7 separate regions of the Homo sapiens genome follow, and all the other regions are linked to region 7. The links are contacts of gene promoters, found by promoter capture Hi-C in blood cells and fetal thymus (Javierre and others, 2016). All regions are on one chromosome and are shown on one strand. Each heading gives the region's core, a stretch centred on a gene start or on the middle of the fragment in contact. The rest is flanking DNA. Distances are from core to core; before and after follow the strand shown. Region 1 has its middle 19 kb from the start of NLRP1. Region 2 overlaps NLRP1 (NLR family pyrin domain containing 1). Region 3 overlaps DHX33 (DEAH-box helicase 33). Region 4 overlaps NLRP1 (NLR family pyrin domain containing 1). Region 5 holds the start of LOC101928044 (zinc finger CCHC domain-containing protein 9-like). Region 6 overlaps DERL2 (derlin 2). Region 7 holds the start of AIPL1 (AIP like 1 HSP90 co-chaperone).

Region 1 (2,700 bases), core at 34-2,533, 830 kb before region 7:
CTCTCTTCTTAGCCACCCTGCATACTCCTATGCATCTGCCAAGAGCTAGCCTAAATGTCCCCACCTCTTTTTTTTTTTTTCGGAAATATTTCCTGCCTTCTCTTGTCAGGGTTACTAGCTGCCTTCTCTGTTAAGTCTGTCTAGATACAAAATACTTCAAGAGCATAGTTAGTTATGTCTACCTATCTGTCACTAGAACAGTGTCAAGCACATAGTCAAAATTTGGGTTGTCGAATGAGGGGATCATTTGATGTCAGTGAGGAGACAACCCTTCTTGGTCAGCACCACGTGTCTGGCATGCGATGATAATTTAATTTCAAGCACAATGTGTCTAATACTTCTGTGAGTATTATCATCACAGAATAATACTTGATCTTATGATCAAGATGCTGAGGAAGATGCTTTACTGACTGCAGGTAATGCAAACCTGGAAGTGATAATAAACACACTGAATGGCTATTCGGTATTTTAAAAAATGTGGATAGTTTGGCACACTTGACTGAAATTAACAAGATGCCACTGAATATGGATACAGTGGAGGTGTTACCAATATAAAGGTCTATGAATCAATGGCAGTTGGTGGCTGGTGTGAGGGAGAAGATTCACAGGTGACCAGGGTATTAAATAGTCCTCCACATATGCCACGGTCTTTCATACCCATTGGTGAGGGGAAGCTTAGGGTTTTGTCTGGGAAAAAGCAGGAATAGGTAGAGTTTGAGTCACTGAATCCTCTGTGTTTGTAATAATGCCTACCACTTAGTAGGTTCACAATAAATATTTGTTGAATTATGAATGAATACTCTAGTCACTTTGCATTTACTTTCTGCTTGCAGTATCCTATGCCTCCAAATTTTTTTTTTGAGACCCTCTGTTGCCCAGGCTGCAGTGCAGTGGCACGATCTCAGCTCACTGCAACCTCCACCTCCTGGGTTCAAGTGATTCTCCTGCCTCAGCCTCCTGACTGGGATTACTGGCACCCGCCACCACACCTGGCTAATTTTTGTATTTTTTAGTAGAGACGGGGTTTCACCATATTGGCCAGGCTGGTCTTGAACTCCTTACCTCCGGTGATCTGCCTGCCTTGGCCTCCCAGAAGTGCTGGAATTATAGGCGTGAGCCACTGTGTCCAGCCCAAATTCTTACTAGTTCTTCAAAATTGAACTCAGAAGTTAACCAACTGTAGGGCACTTTCTCTAGTGGCTACTTCCCCACTGGGCTATTATAATACTCTCATTTAAAACATAGGACTTAATACACTGTGTGAATGCTATTTGTTTATAGCATTCACACAGTATAATATGTGTGATATATAGTATGGATCCCCCATAAAACTGAGAGCTTGGCAAAAGCAGGGGCTGGATTTGATCTCTAATCAACCAGTGAACTCCATATCATTGGTGCTCAATCAATGTTTGTGGACTGAATGACTGAGAAGCTCTGGCACATAATTTCCCTCAGAGCTCAGTGGTCTGAGAATTAGAGACAGGTCAAAGGACAAGGTCTTTGTCTATAGAGGACAAGACTGTAGGGCATGGGTTCAAGGGATCTCAGGGTGTCACTAAGAGCAGCACTTGGTCCAGAATTTGTAGGGAGATGAGTCTCACTCTATCGCCCACGCTGGAGTACAGTTGTGCGATCTCAGCTCACTGCAACCTCCTCCTCCCAGGTTCAAGTGATTCTCCCGCCTCAGCCTCCAGAGTAGCTGGGACTACAGGTGCACGCCACCATGCCTGGCTAATTTTTGTATTTTTAGTAGAGATGGGGTTTCACTATGTTGGCCAGGTTGGTCTCAAATTCCTGACCTCAGGTGATCCACCCGCCTTGGCCTCCCGAAGTGCTGGGATTATAGGCGTGAGCCACCATGCCTGGCCGAAAATAGGCAGGTTTGATTTCTAAGCTTCAATCATCCTTCAAGAGCTTTAAGAGCTTCTGACTCTAGATCTGTGCATTGAGTATGACATCACAGCTCTGTCTGAGACATTGGAGGTGGAAGAGTTCAGAGTTATGGCAGGGTCCCTGGCCTGGGGGCAGTGATATAGAGGAGAATGTTGCTGGAGTTAAGGAGGCTGGAGAACTGTAAGAGCAGGATGTCAAGAGTGATATCATCTTGGATGCTGAGTTCATCAAGGATGATATCAAGGGATGGAGTGTAGAGCACATTTTAAAGATCACTTCAGACTGAAAATTACAGAATGGTCCAACCTCAAAAACACTTAAGCAAGAGAAGGATAATTTGTTGGCTTCGAGTATCCTAGGAAGGGTAGATTAGTCAAGCTATGGGACAGTCAGGGAAGCAACTGGGTCTCAAGAACTATTGGAACCAGGGATTTTAACGCCAACAGGTCTTTCACTGTATGTGTGTCTCTGTCCTTTTCTCTGTCCATATCTTGCTTCTTGGACATGTTTGTTTCATTTGCCGTTTCCATAATGAATCACTTTCTTCATGTGGCAGGACACAATGCAGTTCTGAGGTTTACTTCTTATAGCTTTAATCACCAAAGAGACTGACCTTCTGGGACACACATTTTAAAAATTCCCAGGGAAGAGATCCATTATCTCAGAGGGAGTGAGGTGCTCATTCCTTGACTAGGGCCCTCAATTTGTCACCAGGTAGGTTGGGGGAAGCGCTTGCAGAGTGAAGTTATTGTGGGAAGTGTATTCATTTAAGAGACATTCTTCATTTTATGATAGGAGATACAG
Region 2 (2,794 bases), core at 165-2,664, 910 kb before region 7:
TGAATGAAGAGCTCCGCGCTTTCATTTTGTGCTGGGCCCTATGACTGCTGGAGCTGGTCCTGCAGGAGGGTGAGAATGCCCATTGCCACGGTGATGAAGCTGAGAGGCTGAAAGCCTCAAGCTCTAGCTATAGTGGGAGAAAACTCACCATGGAAAGTTAATGACTCATCACCCGTTCAGCGACGACAGTGATGAAGCACCAGTGCCCAAGTCCTAAATCAGACCCTGTGTCAGGCAGTGAGGTCATCGTTTCCAGGGCAATGAACAGCTGCAGCCCAGACAGCAGGCAGCAAGCATTTCTGGAAGGGGCCCTGCCCGGCCCCAGGGATTGGTTTCCTGGCTGGTCACAGCTAGCTAAAAGCAGCCTCTGTGCATTTTGCCTCTTGTTCTGTGGCAGGGGTGTCCAATCTTTTGGCTTCCCTGGGTCACATTGGAAGAAGAAGAATTGTCTTGGGCCACACATGTAAAATATACTAACACTAATGATAGCTGGTGAGCTTTAAAAAATTCGCAAGAAAGTCTCATAATGTTTTAAGAAAGTTTACGAATTCACGTTGGGCTTCATCGAAAGCCATCCTGGGCCGCATGTGGCCCACAGGCCGCAGGTTGTACAAGCTTGTGTACGGAGTCCAAAGGGAGTAAATCCTATCTGGCCACAAGGTGAGGCTCAGAATTTGGTCTAGAGAAGGCTAGTGGGACATGGGCTTGGGCAGGACTGGGGAGGGGTAGGGGTGTAGCTCTTAGCCTGGGATAAACAGGACTTGGGATAGAATCCCAACTCTGGAAGAGGGTCTTCACCTCTCTCGGCTTCAGTTTCCTCACTGGTACACCAAGGGAAAACTGTAGTGCCTAATTTCCCGGTTCATTATGAAAAAAGAGATGATATTAATATATACGGAACTACCTTGCATGGTTCCAGGCACAGGATGCTCAGTTATTGTTCACAGTTCTTATTGGCCAAGTTCCAGTGCCACAAAGGACAGTGCCACAAGCACAGTGAATTCATTCCTATTCTGATTTGGCTGTCAGCCTGGCAGGCTTCAGCTAGATGCCTGTGCACTCGGAGGGTCACCCAATTCCTTGGACAAATCCCGTCTCCCAGGCCCACTTGATGCACGCAGGAGACTGAGCAGGGCATGGCCTGGGAGTCCTCACAATGGGGAGGGCCAGCTCATCCACCTCTGAGAGTGGGGAATGAGGGGGCGCTGGAGCAGGACCTGAAGGCAGACTTTGTCCCCTCGGGCCCTGGTGGTACATTCTGGCTCCAGACCTTAGCTGCATGAGGTTTCTCCTGGAATACCCTGGTTAGAGCAGGGAGTGGTGGTGCAGCCCTGAGCATCCCAGGTTGGGGCAAGCCAAGTTCTTTTGCTGCTGGTCATGGGCAGAGCTACGACAGAGCTGAGCCCACTGACTCTATTAGCCAGGCCCCTCTCTTCTTGATAGAGTACCTGGGGATCCCTGGCCACGGTCTCACTTGTGGAAGAGGCAGGCTGGTTGTGGTAGTGGCTGTGTTCATTACTCTATAGATTGCCCGGTGGGAACAAGTAACTTGTCCCAGCTTCTTGTTTCAGCCATCAGTTTCCTCTCCTCAATCTCTTCCTTTCTAAATGGACCTCTACAATTCCAGAGCTGTCTTGCACCTCTTCCCTCTATTCTGTTTTAGTCTGGGACCTTCCCTAGGGAATGCCCATATGACCCTGACTGTTCAACCAGGTGCCCCAGGGATCCTGAGGCCCCCGGGACTCTATTTCCCTGCCCCATGCTCTCCTCCTGGTGTGCAGCTTGAATTGTTTACTGAACTTTTGTGGCCTCAACAAACAAGACTTTCCTGGTTCTGGGTACTGAGCAGTTCCCTGCTTTTTATTTTTCTCATTTGATTTTTCTCTTTCTACTAGCTTCTAAATAATTTTTCTTATATATATGCCTTGATTACCTTAATATATGCATACTGTAAAGTTAATACCTTTATTTTGAGGTGATACTAAAAATACATTGAACTACTGGGATGATACTACAACATATCAACTAACAAATGAGAAATTAAAAATAAATTCTCATTTACCTCTATTCCTGGGAAATAAAGAAATTAAGACAAGAAAAAATATTAAAAACCCATTTAATATCTAGCTAAACTGTACAAATCATAAAAGTGCTTATAACTGATGTAAGCTATAACATAAATTGTTTATCAAATCATTTTATCAGCAATTAAATGAAGCTTCTATTGGAGTCATGATTTGACATGGGGACACATCAGATTCTTCTAACTTGCTCACTAAATTGACAGACATTGGCTGGGCACAGTGGCTCACACCTATAACCCTTTCTTTCTGGCTGATGTCAAGGCTTTCCCTCATACTTTCTTATTCTGTAGTTTCACATTAATGAGACTAATCTTGATTTTTTCTCTCCCTTCTCTCTCTCTTTCCTGCATTGCAGTTTTGGGGATTCTCATTCTGAGAAGTCTCATATGTCTCAATACTTCCAGAAATTTGTTTGCAATTGTCTTGTTGAATATTCTATTTTTTTCCCTTCTATCTTATCTTTCTGGAATTCCATTTAGATATATATTAGGACTTATCATGGTATCCTACAAGTTACTTGATTGTTTATTCTTTTTTTTTTTTTTTTGAGACAGAGTCTCGCTCTGTGGCCCAGGCTGGAGTGCAGTGGTGCGATCTTGGCTCACTGCAAGCTCCACCTCCTGGGTTCACGCCATTCTCCTGCCTCAGCCTTCCGAGTAGCTGGGACTACAGGCGCCTGCCGCCACGCCCGGCTAATTTTTGTATTTTTA
Region 3 (2,849 bases), core at 180-2,679, 980 kb before region 7:
GAAGGATGGATAAATGCATTTTGGTTTATTCACAGAATGGAATAGCACTTAGTGTGAAAAAGCATCAGCACAAATATACTATACGGAACAAGCTGAATGAAAACCGCTTACTCAAGAATAACTAACATAAACTTACAAACAACAGGTGGTTTAGGGATACATACGCATATAGTAAAACAGTGAAGAAAAGCAAGGCAATTACAAACAAAATATGGAAGAGTGGGTACCCCAAAAGAGTGGAAGGAGGCGAGGGCAAGTGGGTGGGGGGGACTCCTGGGGGCTTCAATTGGGTACACAGGTGTTAGATTTTAACCATTCCTTACACCTTATGTATCTTCTTCATTTGTATGTAAGAATTTAGCAATGAAAGAAAAAAAATCAAGCACAGAACAATACTCAATGTGTGTTGCTATTTGTGTTTTAAAACATACTACAGGCTGGGCGTGGTGGCTCACGCCTGTAATCCCAGCACTTTGGGAGACCGAGGTGGGCGGACCACCTAGGTCAGGAGTTCAAGACCAGCCTGGTCAACATAGTGAAACTCCATCTATACTAAAAAATACAAAAATTAGCCGGGCATGGTGGTGCACACCTGTAGTCCTAGCTACTCGGGAGGCTGAGGCAGGAGAATCACCTGAACCCGGCAGGTGGAGGTTGCAGTGAGCTGGGATCGCACCACTGCACTCCAGCCTGGGCAACAGAGTGAGACCCTGTCTCAAAACAAAAACAAAAACAAAAACATACTACAGCAGGGGCTTGGTGGCTCACACCTGTAGTCCCAGCTACTTGGGAAGCTGATGTGGGAGAATCACCTGAGCCCGGGAGGTTGAGGCTGCAGTGTGCTGAGAATGTGCCACTGCACTCCAGCCTGGACAACCAGAGTGAGACCCTGTCTCAAAAATAAATAAATAAATACATAAATAAAATCAAACACACTACATATACTCATATATGCATACATTTGCTCTAGAAGTCTACTAGAAAATGGTTCCAGTGGTTGTTCTAGGGGAAGGAAACTGTGAACCTGAGGATCAGGGCAGGACCCTTGTATACCCATCAACTGGTGACTTTGTGTTTTCTTTCCTTCTTTTTTAAACCAATTGCATTTCTTAAGAAAAGGGGGGGCAATAAAAAGAAAAGGAAAATGGTGCGTTGATGAGAGGCCAGGTGCCAAAGCCAATATCATAAATATTTCCAATTATTTTCTTCTTCTGTAGAGAAATTACTAATGAACAGGAGAGATGGATCAAATTCCAGTTAAAGGCAAAGAAATGTGATCTTTGCAGTCCCTGTGCTGATAAAAGTACAATTTCATTACATTTCTGTAGTATCCCAAGGACTCGCATGATGACCTTCACTGGTTCCAGAGGTCAAGGAACTTTATTGATGGTGCTGATAGTACAGAATCTATCGTTTCATAGCTAGGAACACTGGCGCATGCCTGTGGTCCCAGCTACTTGGGAGGCTGAGGCGGGGGGATCGCTGGAGCCCAGGAGTTGGAGGCTGTGATGGAGCCTGTGAATAGTCACTGCACCTCCACCTGGGCCACACAGTGAGACCCTGTCTCTTTAAAAGTCAATCAATGTATCTATCTATCATTTCATGATTTTCAGATGCTTCTCTAATAACTAATGTTGTCATCCACAAAATTAAATAAACAAAAGGAGATGACCAATATACTTTATTTTTTTGGAAGTGTCCATTTGTTGTTGTTTGTCTCCTCACCCACCTTCTGCAAAACTGTGGATTTCACTTACCTGGAGATGGCTTCGACATGAAGTCAAAGGTGAGCACATTTGGGACTTTCATTGCTAGAAGCTGAAGCATCACACTGGCCAGGTTACACCTGTGAAGAGCATGAGACCAGGGTCATGACCTGATCCCTCTGCCATTGAGTCAGAACCCCTCATGGTGGAGTGTGAGTAAAAACTGCAGCTCTGGGCAAGCAGGAGAGACATGGTGACAAACAGCAGCAGTGCAGGAGCAACTGGTGCCTACCTCTGGATCTCTGGCACGGTCATCTTATCAAACTTCTCAAACTCGTCCTCCGTGTAGAGCCGGTAGCAGATGCCACTGTCCTCTCTGCCAGCCCTCCCTGTGCGCTGCCAAGCCTGCGTCTTCGATACCCGCTGCACTGCTAACACCTCAAGACCACTGTCTGGATGGAGAGTGAGCCCCATTAGTGCTTCATCACATGAACAAACTCTTTCTACAGTGTCGATAAAAAGAAGCACACCAGTGGTTCTTTCAGCAACACGGGGGTCCAGAAAGCCTCAAGGCTAGCACAATGGACAGCACAAAACCAGACTGCTCCGCAGCGGTTTGGCCCTAGTGAAACAAGGCTTTGCCATAAGCCCACTGTGAAATCTGTTACAAAAACATCAGAAAAACCTCACGCATGCAGCAAGGGGCGAGAAGAGTAGTTTCCGAGGTCTTGCCTTAGATGGTAGGATGGCCAACCCCTCCAGTTTGCTTGGGACAGAGGGTTTCCTGGGATGTCGGATTTTGGGTGCTAAAACTGGGAGTTTCAGCAAACTAGGATGGGGGTCATACTATCAATCAATGACTACGAAATTAAATGCCTCAAATCACTTGTGTGCTTTATCCTCCCTCCCAGTTCTGCTGTAAGACAGAAATAATGTGATGTCTGTTTTCTAGCAGTAAATGAGGTTCATTTTCTTGATAAAGGTGTATCATTAGCCTGGCACTGGAGACCCAAGCTCTTTCACCTACGTCATCACAAAAAGATACACCTGTGGAAGCCAGGACCCTCAAATGTTTACTAGAGCATTTCAGTTCAATAATTGGGAGCAATAATTTCAGTGGTCTCAAATCCTCTGTGGAATAAA
Region 4 (2,700 bases), core at 194-2,693, 870 kb before region 7:
CGCCCAGGCCGGACTGCGGACTGCAGTGGCGCAATCTCAGCTCACTGCAAGCTCCGCTTCCCGGGTTCACGCCATTCTCCTGCCTCAGCCTCCCGAGTAGCTGGGACTACAGGCGCCCGCCACCGCGCCCGGCTAATTTTTTGTATTTTTAGTAGAGACGGGGTTTCACCTTGTTAGCCAGGATGGTCTCGATCTCCTGACCTCATGATCCACCCGCCTCGGCCTCCCAAAGTGCTGGGATTACAGGCGTGAGCCACCGCGCCCGGCCCCATGTGGTTTTTATACTTGCCATGAAACTGTTCTTTGGGATATTATTTTGTTCAGGTTCCCCACTTGGACAGCAGAGGGGGTGACTCTGCCCATCCCTGCCACTGGTAGCCAGGCGGGCAATGTCTGCTAGCAGTCTGCTTCTGTCTGAACTCAGCCAGCAGAGGCAAACTCCCGGTTCCCCGAGAAACACTCTGAAGGCAGGGTGGGTGACTCCACCCACCACCGCCTCTCCTAGCCATGCAGGCCATGTCTGCTAGAGCTTCCAGCGCAGTGGTCCTAATTCTGTCTGAATCCGGCTGAGGGGTGCAGCCTCCTGTTACTGCCCAGGGAAACACCCAGATGGCAGGGTGGGTGACTCCAACCACCTCTGCCTGTGGTAGCCAGATGGGCCACACCTGCTAGAGCTTCCAGCCCAGCAGTCCCGCTACTCTGTGGGTGGGTGCCATCCCCTGTTCCTCTGGGAAGCACCCAGACAGCTGATTACGTGACCCCACCCACTTCTGCAGATCCTAGCTGAGCAGGACTTGCTGGTTTGGACAATGCCCAAGCAGGGAAGAGCCCTCATTCTCTTATCACTGACAGAGGTGAGATGTCCGAGTTTGTAGGCTGGTGGAGGAGTGAGGTGGAGGAGGTATGCCTCTCTCTGCAGGGCGGACCCAGCAAGGATACGGCCTGTCTGCCAACCACGGCCCCTGCCTGAAGGAACCCCGTTTACCAGAACACCCAACAAAAGAAATGCAGGTGTGGAGCCAGTAATCAGAAGGGTCTTGTCTAAGGCCCAGGAGTGGACTAAGTGAGAAGGTCACCCCCCTGTCCCCAACACACACAGAACACTACTGCCAACTGTACTGAAACATGAAGAACCACGCAGCAGAGTAAGAGTGTATCTCCTGGTGATCACTCTTAAGCACTGCCTACTGGATGGCGGCCCCAAAATACAACACCAAAATGTTTTGCAGTATTCAGTGCCATGAAAACTAAGGCAAAGGCTCCCACCAGTGCCCTGCCCCAGCCAACACACACGCACCCTGCCATGCCACTGTGGCTGGTGCCATGTGTGAGTGAGCACAGATCCTGCTGGCACTGCCACAAGGAAGCACTTTGGCCTGCACCCCCACTGGACTGTTGAGGCCAGCGGACTGGGAACACCTTGGCCCCTCTAATGCAGCAGGTTCTGAACCCCAGGAGGCCAGAGGAAAAGGCTGGGGACCCAGTACCAGCCTTCTAGAGTTAGAGCAGGCAGCTCAGGAGTGCTGAGCTGAGCCTTGGCCACCTGAAATCTTCCAGAATCGAAGCCAGTTGACTGAACCCACCTTATACGACAATCAAACCCCCAAGGGCTTCAAACAAGATAAAAACAAAACAAAAAAAACCCCATCCAAAGGAAGACAACTTCAAAGATTAAAGGAACATCAGCCCACACACACGAGAAAGAACCAGCTCAAGAGCTCTGGTAACTCAAAAAGCCACAGTGTCTTCCTATCTCCAGATGTGTGCACTAGTGCCTCAGCAATGGTATTTTAACAGGCTGAAATGGCTGAAATGACAGACATAGAATTCAGAATATGAGTAGGAATGAAGATCATTGAGATTCAGGAGAAAGTCAAAATCCAGTCCAAGCAATCTAAGGAATATGATAAAATGATACAGGAGCTGAAAGACGAAATGGTCATTTTAGGAAAGAACCAAACTGATCTGATAGAGCTGGAAATCTCACTACAAGAATTTCATAATACAATAGCAAGTATTAACAACAGGATAGACCAAGCTGAGGAAAGAATCTCAGAGCCTGAAGACTGGTTCTCCAAATTAACTCAGTCAGACAAAAATAAAAAAGAATGAAAACAAATGAACAACACCTCTGAGGAATATGGGATTTTGGAAAGAGACCAAATCTATGACTCGCTGGCATCCCTGAAAGAGCATGAGAAAGCCAGCAACTTGGAAAACGTATTTGAAGATATTGTCCACAAAAGTTTCCCCAACCTCCCTAGAGAAGCCAACATTTAAATTCAGGAAATGCAAAGAATCCTTGTGAGATACTATACAAGACAATCATCCCTAAAACACATAGTTCTCAGATTCCCCAAGTCCTCAGATTCTCCAAGGCCAACATGAAAGAAAAAACAATAAAGGCAGCTAGACACAGAAGGGGCAGGTCACCTAAAAAGGGAACCTCATCAGGCTAACAGTGAACTTTTCAGCAGAAGCCCTGCAAGGCAGAAGAGATTGGGGGCCTATATTCAGCATCCTTAAAGAAAAGAAATTCCAGCCAATAATTTCTTTTCTTTTTTAAAATTTTAAAATTATTTTTTAAAAATTTTGTGGATATGTAGTAGGTGTATGTATTTATGGGGATCCATGAGATGGTTTGATACAAGTAAGCACTGTAAAATAAGCACATCATGGAGAATGGGGTATGCAGCTCCT
Region 5 (2,700 bases), core at 21-2,520, 920 kb before region 7:
CAAACTCCTGGTCTCAATAGATCTTCAGGCCTTCGCCTCTCAAAGTGCTGGGATTACAGACATGGGTGCGTATTTCGTATCTCCTTGCCACTAGAATATAAATTGCTTGAGAATAGATACTCTGGCCTCTGTTATCACTGGCACCTACAACAGCCTCAGGCTCAAAGAAGCTAAGATTTACTGTCTGCCTAGTGTTGTGTACCAGCTCGCCCAGAACAACTTCCCACTCATGAGCTCACCTAGTCAAACAACCGTTTGACGCAAGCTTTGCTATTCCCTTCTTACACATCTGAAAACCTGTTTCAAGATCACACATCTAATGGGTGGTAGAGCCAAGAATTTGATTCCCAGCTCACTGCCTGTCCCTCAGAATTCTAGCTGTTGCTATTAGAATCCAGATCCAGGCCGGGCACGGTGGCTCACACTTGTAATCCCAGCACTTTAGGAGGCCGAGGCGGGCGGATCACTTGATGCCAGGAGTTCGAGACCAGCCTGGCCAACATGGTGAAACCCCGTCTCTACTAAAAATACAAAAATTTATCCGGGTGTGGTGGTGGGCGCCTGTAATCCCAGCTACTCGGGAGGCTGAGGCAGGAGAATCGTTTGAACCCGGGAGGTGGAGGTTGCAGTGAGTGCAGTGAGCTGAGATTGCGCCACTGCACTCCAGCCTGGGCGACAGAGCGAGCCTCCGTCTAAAAAAAAAAAAGAGAATCTGGATCCAAAGCGGACATGCATGTGTGTCTCCCCCATCCCCACACACTTGTTTGTGTCTGGCCTTTCTCCTACTCCAAGACTGGCTCCACTTCGGGGCTCGCTGCCATGGAGACGACTCCAGATTTAGGAATACATTTCCTAGGCTTCCGGCAACTAACGTGAGGACTTGCTGGGATGAGGGACGGGGAGGTCTGCAGAAGGAGGCGGGGCATGCGGGGGTTGCGGGGCTTAGAGGGTTGGCGGAGCCCCTCCTCGCGTAGGTCCTTCCTTCTTTCCCTCCCTCCCTTTCTCTTTTCTTTTTCTTTCTCTTTCTCTTTCTTCTTTCTTTCTCTTTCCTTTCTCTCTTTCCTTCCTTCCTTCCTCTTTTTCTTCATTCCTTCCTCTTCCTCTTTCTCTTCCTTTTTCTTTCTCTCTCTTCTTTCTTCTTTCTCTCTGTTGAAAATTGTTTTTGACCACACCCAGATCATACTGATATTTACAGTATAGTCCTGGCTACAAGGGAGCCCAGCTGTAACTTGTGAAGTGGGCCTGGTTTAGAAAGTAACAATGAGGTGGTAACTAATGACAGTACTAGTTGTTATCAAAAATTAACACCTTTAGGTATTTTTGTTTTGGGTTTTTGTGGTTTTGGTGCATCCACAATGTCTTCATAGTCTGCACTTATTCCCTTTGCCCACAGACCAACTGTGGCCATTCGATCTGAATTCTCACTTTCAGGGCAATCTTTCTTTAAATGTTCCACAGAGCCATGAAGTTGGCAACCACTACCATCAGCATAGAGTCCTTTGGGATTATCAGGACAAGATCTAGACAGGTGCCCCATTTCTCCACAGACAAAACATTCTGCAAAAGGACATTCGCCAAGAGGCGGGTCTACTTTAGCCTTACACTTGGTTATTTCGTGATCTGTGGACCCACACTTGTAACATCTTCTAGTGCCCATATCTTGATTTTCAAGGGCGGCAGGGCAATCCGCAATTCCACGACCAGGTTTTCTACAATGGAAACACACCATTGCATTTTTCTTTGCCCCTTGTCTTTTAAATCTTCTTACTTCCCATTGACTGTCCTCTTGGAGGAAGGGTTGTGTGGAGAGTGGAGGTCTGCATGTGGTAAAGGAGATGGGTGGGTGGGGCGTGAAGGACCCGAAAGACAAGGCCAGTCTCATGGGTGTGTGACCTGTGCGGTCACACAGAGCCCTGAGCTCAGCAGGGCCTGGCGCTTGATTTCATGTTCTGTTGTCACCGTCTTGACATTCTTATCATTTTTGAACGAGGGGCCCTGTGTTTCCATTTTGCACTGGGTCCCACAACTGCTGGAGCTGGTCCTACAGGAGGGTGAAAATTAGCATATAATGAGCAGTGAGGACAACCAGGAGTCCCTTTCATTGCCATCTTGGCTTTGGTGGGCTTTGGCCAGCTTCTTTACCGCATCTTATCAGTGGAGTCTTTGTGACCTGCATCTTGTGAAGCCAGTCCTGCCCACCTCCTGTGTCACCCCCAGCTTAGAGATCTGCATACAGTAAAATTACTACTAGCTTTCTCCTGAGGCCCTGCAAGCTAAAGCTTATACCTTGTGATACAGGCGTGTCAGATTGCCACCACTTTCCTGCTTTATAACTAAAGATGCTTTTGAGTCTAATACCTGGATAGACTGTGTCCAGCATTAACCTTTTTTTCTTCTGTTCTCATAAAAATCTCTCTTATTAAAAATCTGTTTGGCTTTGTATTTCAGACAACAGAAGACTAGTTTTCCAGCCTATTCACTTAGATTCCAAATGGCATCTGATCTCTTATTTTTTTCTTTCTTATTTTTTTAAAGAGACAAAGTCTATGTTGCCCGGGCTAGTCTCAAAAGCCTGAGCTCAAGTGATCCTCCTGCCTTGGCCTCCCAAAGTGTTAAGATTACATGCATGAGCCACCATGCTTGGCTTTGATCTCTTCTTTAAAACTGGGCTTAAGTATTTTATGAATTATCACTAGGTGC
Region 6 (2,700 bases), core at 199-2,698, 950 kb before region 7:
ACAGCTACACCTGGTTTCCAGTCCAAAGCTATTTCCACTCTGCTTCACTGCTTATCTCAACCACCTGCTTGGCAGGCCACAAAGTCCACCATCAGAAACTTTCATCAGTTTTGCCCATTTTGCTACCTTACTTCACTAAACGTGGACAGCAGCTTTCATAAAACCAGCAGGCTCCTACCAGAATAGAAGTTCTAGTGGTCATCTCTAACAATTACCAGGTTACTCCCAAGATATCTTGAGCCTGTTGACGTTGGTCTTGCCACAACCCTGGCACTGTCTGCTCCTACCCAGTCCAAGTGCTCTTCAACTGTAGCCAGAATGCTCAATCTGCAAATGGTTACTGACCTGAGCTATGTGTACTAGGAGCTAGGGGAGCCAAAGAAAACACAGATCATGCCCCTGTCCTGGTTTGCCTGTAAGAGTATGTAACCTGGTGTTAAATACTCACAAAATAGATGGTGTTTTCAGAATTCTTATTCCACCAGGTTGATTGGGAAATACATCTTCCAAGAAAAAATATATGTGTCCAACTGCAATACCTAGAGTCAAGCAGAAATAAAGGATGAGGGAGAGAATTAAAATTTAGATTGCAGGTAGACCTACCAACACAAATTGCCTATATTTAGGATGAATGTCAACATAATTATTAAAAATTAATGAACTAATATTGTGGTATTTTACAATAGGTAATACGTGAAGGCCAAACAGAATAAACATGAAAAATAGTAACAAAATACTTTTACAGGTAAAATAATTTAAAAAATAGTGAGAAGAGCCTTACCCAAAAGGTCCACAATGATTGAGTTCCCCAACAACAAGGAAAATCCCATGAGCACCCAGGGCAGAAAGGGGGCCTGGAAGTTGAGAAGGCCGAAGAAGTTCATGCGGACATAGGGGTTCCTTCGGCTCCACACATAGACGAGCATTATTGTAAAGGCCTGGCCCAAGAAAACTAAGCTCACAAACAGACCAAAAAGCTAGCAGATGGCATTAAGGAAAATATCAACATTAAAAGTTTAATAGGAAAGACTGAGCAGGAGAACTAAAGATTGTGTTCTAACAGAAGTTTGAATTGGAAAAGTCAAGTTGTTACATCTTTAGAATAGAAGGAGAAACACCCAGAAAATAATTACCCAGAGCAATCAGGCAAAAATCTGCTTAGGCTAAATTATCGAGATTTACAGCTACTTCAAACAAATACTCTGCTTTCGTGAAGTTCTTGCCTCTTTGGAAAATGTGTTAATTCTTCAGTCAATAATTATATTAAAGCTTGCTCACGATTAGCACCTTTACAGAGATGAATAAAGCTAGCTGGAACAAAACCATCTTGTCAGACCGTACCATATCTAAGTCTATTGTATAGATGAAAATTCTTTTTCTGAAAAAATAATTTATTGGTTTTGGTAGCCACCAAGTAAATGTCTTACCAACTTAGTTTAAAAGTGAAGTACGCCAAGCAGTAATGATATAACTGAGTTGCTTAACAGTAACCCACCTGGGTTAAAAGTTCCTTTGACTTGCTCATCCTGTCCGACTGCTAGGTTTGGAAACTTGTCACAGAAAATGTGCTGTAAAATAAATGATAGTGCCCTGAAGCTAAGATCTAGAGAACTGTGGGAGACAGATGACAAGCTTTAGGAAGAGCCAGGGTGTTCTTCAACATTTTCCCGTGTTGTTTGTTGAAGGATACGGTCATTAAGAATCCACCAAAAAGGAACATAAATACAAAGTCTGCTGTCCGACCTCGGAAAGAGCCTTCTTCTAGCATTCGACAGTAACGATATCTTAAGTTCCAAGTTAAGAAAATATTAAGCACACGAATATGAACAAAGTAAAAATTTAATGTTATCTTGTAAGTACACTTGGATTCCATATTATTTGTAATTAGTCAAGTCTTCATTTGTATAAGAATGTTTGAGTGGTAATGTGATTACTTTTTTACCAAGCATTTGAGAAAAGGTCAAGACCAGCATCATTTTTTACAAACTGTCCCTGGCTGGGAACTAATCCAGATGACACACAGACATGCTTTCAGTCCCCTATTCTTTTTTTTTTTTCTTTTGAGACAGAGTCTCGCTCTGTCACCTAGGATGGAGTGCAATGGTGCCATATCGGCTCACTGCAAGCTCCGCCTCTCAGATTCAAGCGATTCTCCTGCCTCATTCTCCTGAGTAGCTGGGATTACAGTTGTGTGCCACCATGCCAGGCTATTTTTTGTATTTTTAGTAGAGAGCAGGTTTCACCATGTTGGCCAGGCTGGTCTCAAACTCCTGACCTCGTGATCCACTGCCTTGGCCTCCCCAAGTGCTGGGATTACAGGTGTGAGCCACCACACCCGGCCCTCCAGTCCCCTATTAAACCTTTAAAAATTTGTATTGTCTTTCCTGTGCTCAGCCACACCTTAATATGCACCATCTTTGCTTTCCCACATCCTAACTTGGAAGAAATCCGCAGCAAGAAGCCTTGTGTGCTCAACTACTTTTCCAGCCTGGCAGGTTGAGCACCTCAGTCAATAAAGATGAATTACGATGAGAAAAAACTTTAATGGAAACTTATCAGAATGATATCCTACATAGGATATAAAATGGATTCCTGCCATCCTCAGGAAGGAATGCAGCTGCAGATGAGTTGAACTGTAACTCCCTCTTAATACAGAGGGCAGGGGTGGAAGAGGAATGCCCTGCTCTGTGGCCCCAATTA
Region 7 (2,792 bases), core at 1-2,500:
GCCCAGAAAAGACTAGTCCCAGGAGACAGGCGCGCAGGGCCTACTTACGATGGTGTCGCACCAGAACTCGGCCACCTCGTGCACCCGCATGGAGGTAAGCAGGATCTCCCAGACCTCGAGCTTGAACATGTTTCCGATGATGATGTGCATGGGCTGGCCCACCTGCCGACTGTCGTCAATGACTGTCCGCTCCTCATCACATTTCATGGTGCGGAAATGAAAGATCACCTAGTCACCGAGACGGTGCACTCTGCTCTAGACACACTGTTCAAGGCCCGGCAGAAGCCACCCCCTTGCCACCGACACCCAGGGCTGTCCCCAGGGTCAGCTCACTCAGTTCACCCCATCAGATGCCTCAGACCCCTGGAGCACCTCCACCCTGCCTGCACCCCCCAGGGAGGAGGGACCCACCCCTCCCTACAGACCCCATTCCACTCCCCACAGCCCTGTGCGTCCAGAAATCCTTCCTCAAGTAAGCCCGAGTTCTTTTTTTTTTTTTTTTTTCTGAGACAGAGTCTCACTCTGTTGCCCAGGTTGGAGTGCAGTGGTATGATCTCGGCTCACTGCAACCTCCACCTCCTGGGCTCAAGTGATTCTCCTGCCTCAGTCTCCTGAGTATCTGAACTGGGATTACAGGCGCCCAGCACATCTGGCTAATTTTTGTATTTTCAGTAGAGATGGGGTTTCACATGTTGGTCAGGCTGGTCTCGAACTCTTGACCTCATGATCTGCCCATCTTGGCCTCCCAAAGTGCTGGGATTACAGGCGGGAGCCGCCTCGCCTGGCCAAAGCCCGAATTCTGTAGCCACAGACGCACCCTTCAGTCCAGGGAAGCCTAACAGACATTTGGGGACAAATACCAAGACTCCTCGGACTCCCTTTCTTCTCACTCAACATTTAGGGCCCCAGAAAATTCCCAAAAGCCCTTCCCCTCAGCCCATGCTAAAGTTGAATCTGCAAAGTACCAAAAATGCCCCCTGAATGGGTAAACGCTGGGAGCTCCCCGGAGGCCCAGCGCTGGGGCTGCCTGGCTGTTTTTTTGGCACAGCTGAAAGCTGTTTACAGTGCCTTGGGGCACACCTGGAATGTTGAAAGCTGCTGTGGGGGACCCTGTCTGCTCCGGAGGGGCCCCACTCACTCGGGATCCGGTGATGAAGTTTGGGAGCTCGCCCGTGCCCCCGTGCAGAATGGTTTTCTTGACCCCTTCCACGTTCAGGAGCAGAGCGGCATCCATGGCTGCAGGAGAAAGGGAGGTGTCCAGCACAGGCGGAGATAATCTCACCTCCGGGGAAGACACTTAGGCGGCTGAGACTCTGGGATTTACCCAGCCAGGAGGAGTGGGGGGAAGGGCAGACGGTGGGGGCGGTGACCTAGGCGCCCCGGCTTCTCATCAGAGCCACTCGGGCCGGGCCTGTGGTCCACAGGCAGCCTCGCCTCCTATCCCATCCACCTTTGCTTCCAGTGATTCTGGGCCCCTGCCCAGGGTTGTGCTAGATTTGGCTTTTTGTTCCACCCCAAGAAGGAAAAAGGTCCGCTGAGCTTTCTTAAAGAAGACAGGGGACCAGGCGCGGTGACTCACGCCTGTAATCCCAGCACTTTGGGAGGCCGAGGCGGGCAGATCACAAGGTCAAGAGATCGAGACCATCCTGGCTAATATGGTGAAACCCCATCTCTACTAAAAATACAAAAATTAGCCGGGGGTGGTGGCGGGCGCCTGTAGTTCCAGCTACTCGGGAGGCTGAAGCAGGAGAATCGCTTGAACCCGGGAGGCGGAGGTTGCAGTGAGCCAAGATAGCGCCACTGCACTCCAGCCTGGCGATGTGGAGAGAGGCCTGGAGGCCACTGAAGGGGAAAAGGAGGGGAGGCATGGGCTGGGCCCAGACTCTAAGTCCCCGAGGACCCCAGGCCAGCCGGGGTGACAGCTGCCCTTTGCCATCCAGCCACCTTTCTGCTTTCCCTGTTCCCCCTCCCCTCCCCAGAATCTGCCTTCAGGAGGCCCTGCGATGGTGGCCCAAGGCAAGAGGGGACAGGTTTCTGGCTTGGGAGAGAAGGAAGACGGAGAACGAAAGGCGGGGTGGGTTTGGGTAAAGTTGAGGCGCCCTCCGCAGCCCCGCTCCTGCCTCCCCTGCAAGGTCTGGCTGGGGGAAGGGTGGGTATCCCCTCCCCTCCCCTCCCCTCCCCTCCCCTTTGGAGGCCCTTAGCCCTGTGCCCTGGGAACCAGGCAGAGTTTATTGAGGGCATCAGGGACGCCCAGAAGGGCTGGGAAACATAAATGCGAAGACCTGGTGTTTGGCACCACCGTGTGGCCAGTTCAAGCTCCTACACCTCCGCACCCTGAGGGCACTGGACTCAGCTCCACGAAACCATTCTCTTCCTGACACCAGGCTCACCGGTTGCAGAGGGAAGGGGTGCAGGACTCTGCTACAGGGAGAGATAAAAACACGGGACTAAGGAGGCTGAAGTAGGTGGATCACCTGAGGTCAGGAGTTTTGTATTTTTAGTAGTCTGTACTAAAAATACAAAAATTACCCAGGCATGGTGGTGCGCACCTGTAATCCCAGCTACTCAGGAGGCTGAGGCAGGAGCCTCGCTTGAACCCGGGAGGCGGAGGTTGCAGTGAGCTGAGATCGTGCCACTGCACTCCAGCCTGAGCAACACAGCGAGACTCTGTCTCAAAAAAACAAAACAAAACAAAAAATGCTAGACTAGGCTGGGTGCAGTGGCTCATGGCTGTAATCCTAGGACTTTGGGAGCCAAGGCAGGTGGATCACCTCAGATCAGGAGTTAGAGAC

Evidence for each region. The method cuts DNA at HindIII sites, captures the fragments that hold promoters and counts their contacts. A CHiCAGO score of 5 or more calls a contact.
Region 1: a contact is called between a fragment that was not itself captured here and the fragment with the promoter of AIPL1 in region 7, in 17 of 17 cell types (total CD8 T cells, naive CD4 T cells, naive CD8 T cells and 14 more). The highest score is 19.3, in total CD8 T cells.
Region 2: a contact is called between a fragment that was not itself captured here and the fragment with the promoter of AIPL1 in region 7, in 12 of 17 cell types (M1 macrophages, M2 macrophages, total CD8 T cells and 9 more). The highest score is 12.4, in M1 macrophages.
Region 3: a contact is called between a fragment that was not itself captured here and the fragment with the promoter of AIPL1 in region 7, in 1 of 17 cell types (M1 macrophages). The highest score is 5.9, in M1 macrophages.
Region 4: a contact is called between a fragment that was not itself captured here and the fragment with the promoter of AIPL1 in region 7, in 12 of 17 cell types (total CD8 T cells, activated CD4 T cells, naive B cells and 9 more). The highest score is 11.2, in total CD8 T cells.
Region 5: a fragment that was not itself captured here is called in contact with the fragment with the promoter of AIPL1 in region 7 in 1 of 17 cell types (M1 macrophages); the score reaches 5.2 in M1 macrophages.
Region 6: a fragment that was not itself captured here is called in contact with the fragment with the promoter of AIPL1 in region 7 in 1 of 17 cell types (M0 macrophages); the score reaches 6.3 in M0 macrophages.

The regions. Positions count from the first base shown.
Region 1 is chr17:5,601,998-5,604,697 of GRCh38, forward strand. No RefSeq gene overlaps it. Among named protein-coding and RNA genes, the nearest start is that of NLRP1, 19 kb to the left of the region's middle. The HindIII fragment of the contact is 1,223 bases long and covers 673-1,895 here.
Region 2 is chr17:5,526,755-5,529,548 of GRCh38, forward strand. All of the region lies in intron 12 of NLRP1 (NLR family pyrin domain containing 1), which reads right to left. All of the region lies in intron 1 of LOC124903902 (a long non-coding RNA gene), which reads left to right. Among named protein-coding and RNA genes, the nearest start is that of MIS12, 42 kb to the left of the region's middle. The HindIII fragment of the contact is 1,603 bases long and covers 614-2,216 here.
Region 3 is chr17:5,451,823-5,454,671 of GRCh38, forward strand. DHX33 (DEAH-box helicase 33) reads right to left here. Exons shown (of 12, transcript NM_020162.4): 7 at 1,999-2,158; 8 at 1,758-1,846. Among named protein-coding and RNA genes, the nearest start is that of C1QBP, 14 kb to the left of the region's middle. The HindIII fragment of the contact is 6,981 bases long and covers 1-2,849 here.
Region 4 is chr17:5,561,475-5,564,174 of GRCh38, forward strand. All of the region lies in intron 3 of NLRP1 (NLR family pyrin domain containing 1), which reads right to left. Among named protein-coding and RNA genes, the nearest start is that of NLRP1, 22 kb to the right of the region's middle. RefSeq lists an enhancer at 125-626. The HindIII fragment of the contact is 5,112 bases long and covers 1-2,700 here.
Region 5 is chr17:5,510,746-5,513,445 of GRCh38, forward strand. LOC101928044 (zinc finger CCHC domain-containing protein 9-like) reads right to left here and starts at 1,981. Exons shown (of 1, transcript XM_047437231.1): 1 at 1,207-1,981. The coding sequence starts at 1,882. The coding sequence ends at 1,295. It also overlaps a transcript of NLRP1 not described here. The HindIII fragment of the contact is 2,014 bases long and covers 264-2,277 here.
Region 6 is chr17:5,479,606-5,482,305 of GRCh38, forward strand. DERL2 (derlin 2) reads right to left here. Exons shown (of 7, transcript NM_016041.5): 4 at 1,691-1,784; 5 at 782-977; 6 at 449-539. Among named protein-coding and RNA genes, the nearest start is that of DERL2, 5.2 kb to the right of the region's middle. The HindIII fragment of the contact is 363 bases long and covers 1,268-1,630 here.
Region 7 is chr17:6,433,871-6,436,662 of GRCh38, forward strand. It overlaps AIPL1 (AIP like 1 HSP90 co-chaperone), which reads right to left and starts at 1,251. Exons shown (of 6, transcript NM_014336.5): 1 at 1,139-1,251; 2 at 49-228. The coding sequence starts at 1,234. The HindIII fragment of the contact is 8,305 bases long and covers 1-2,792 here.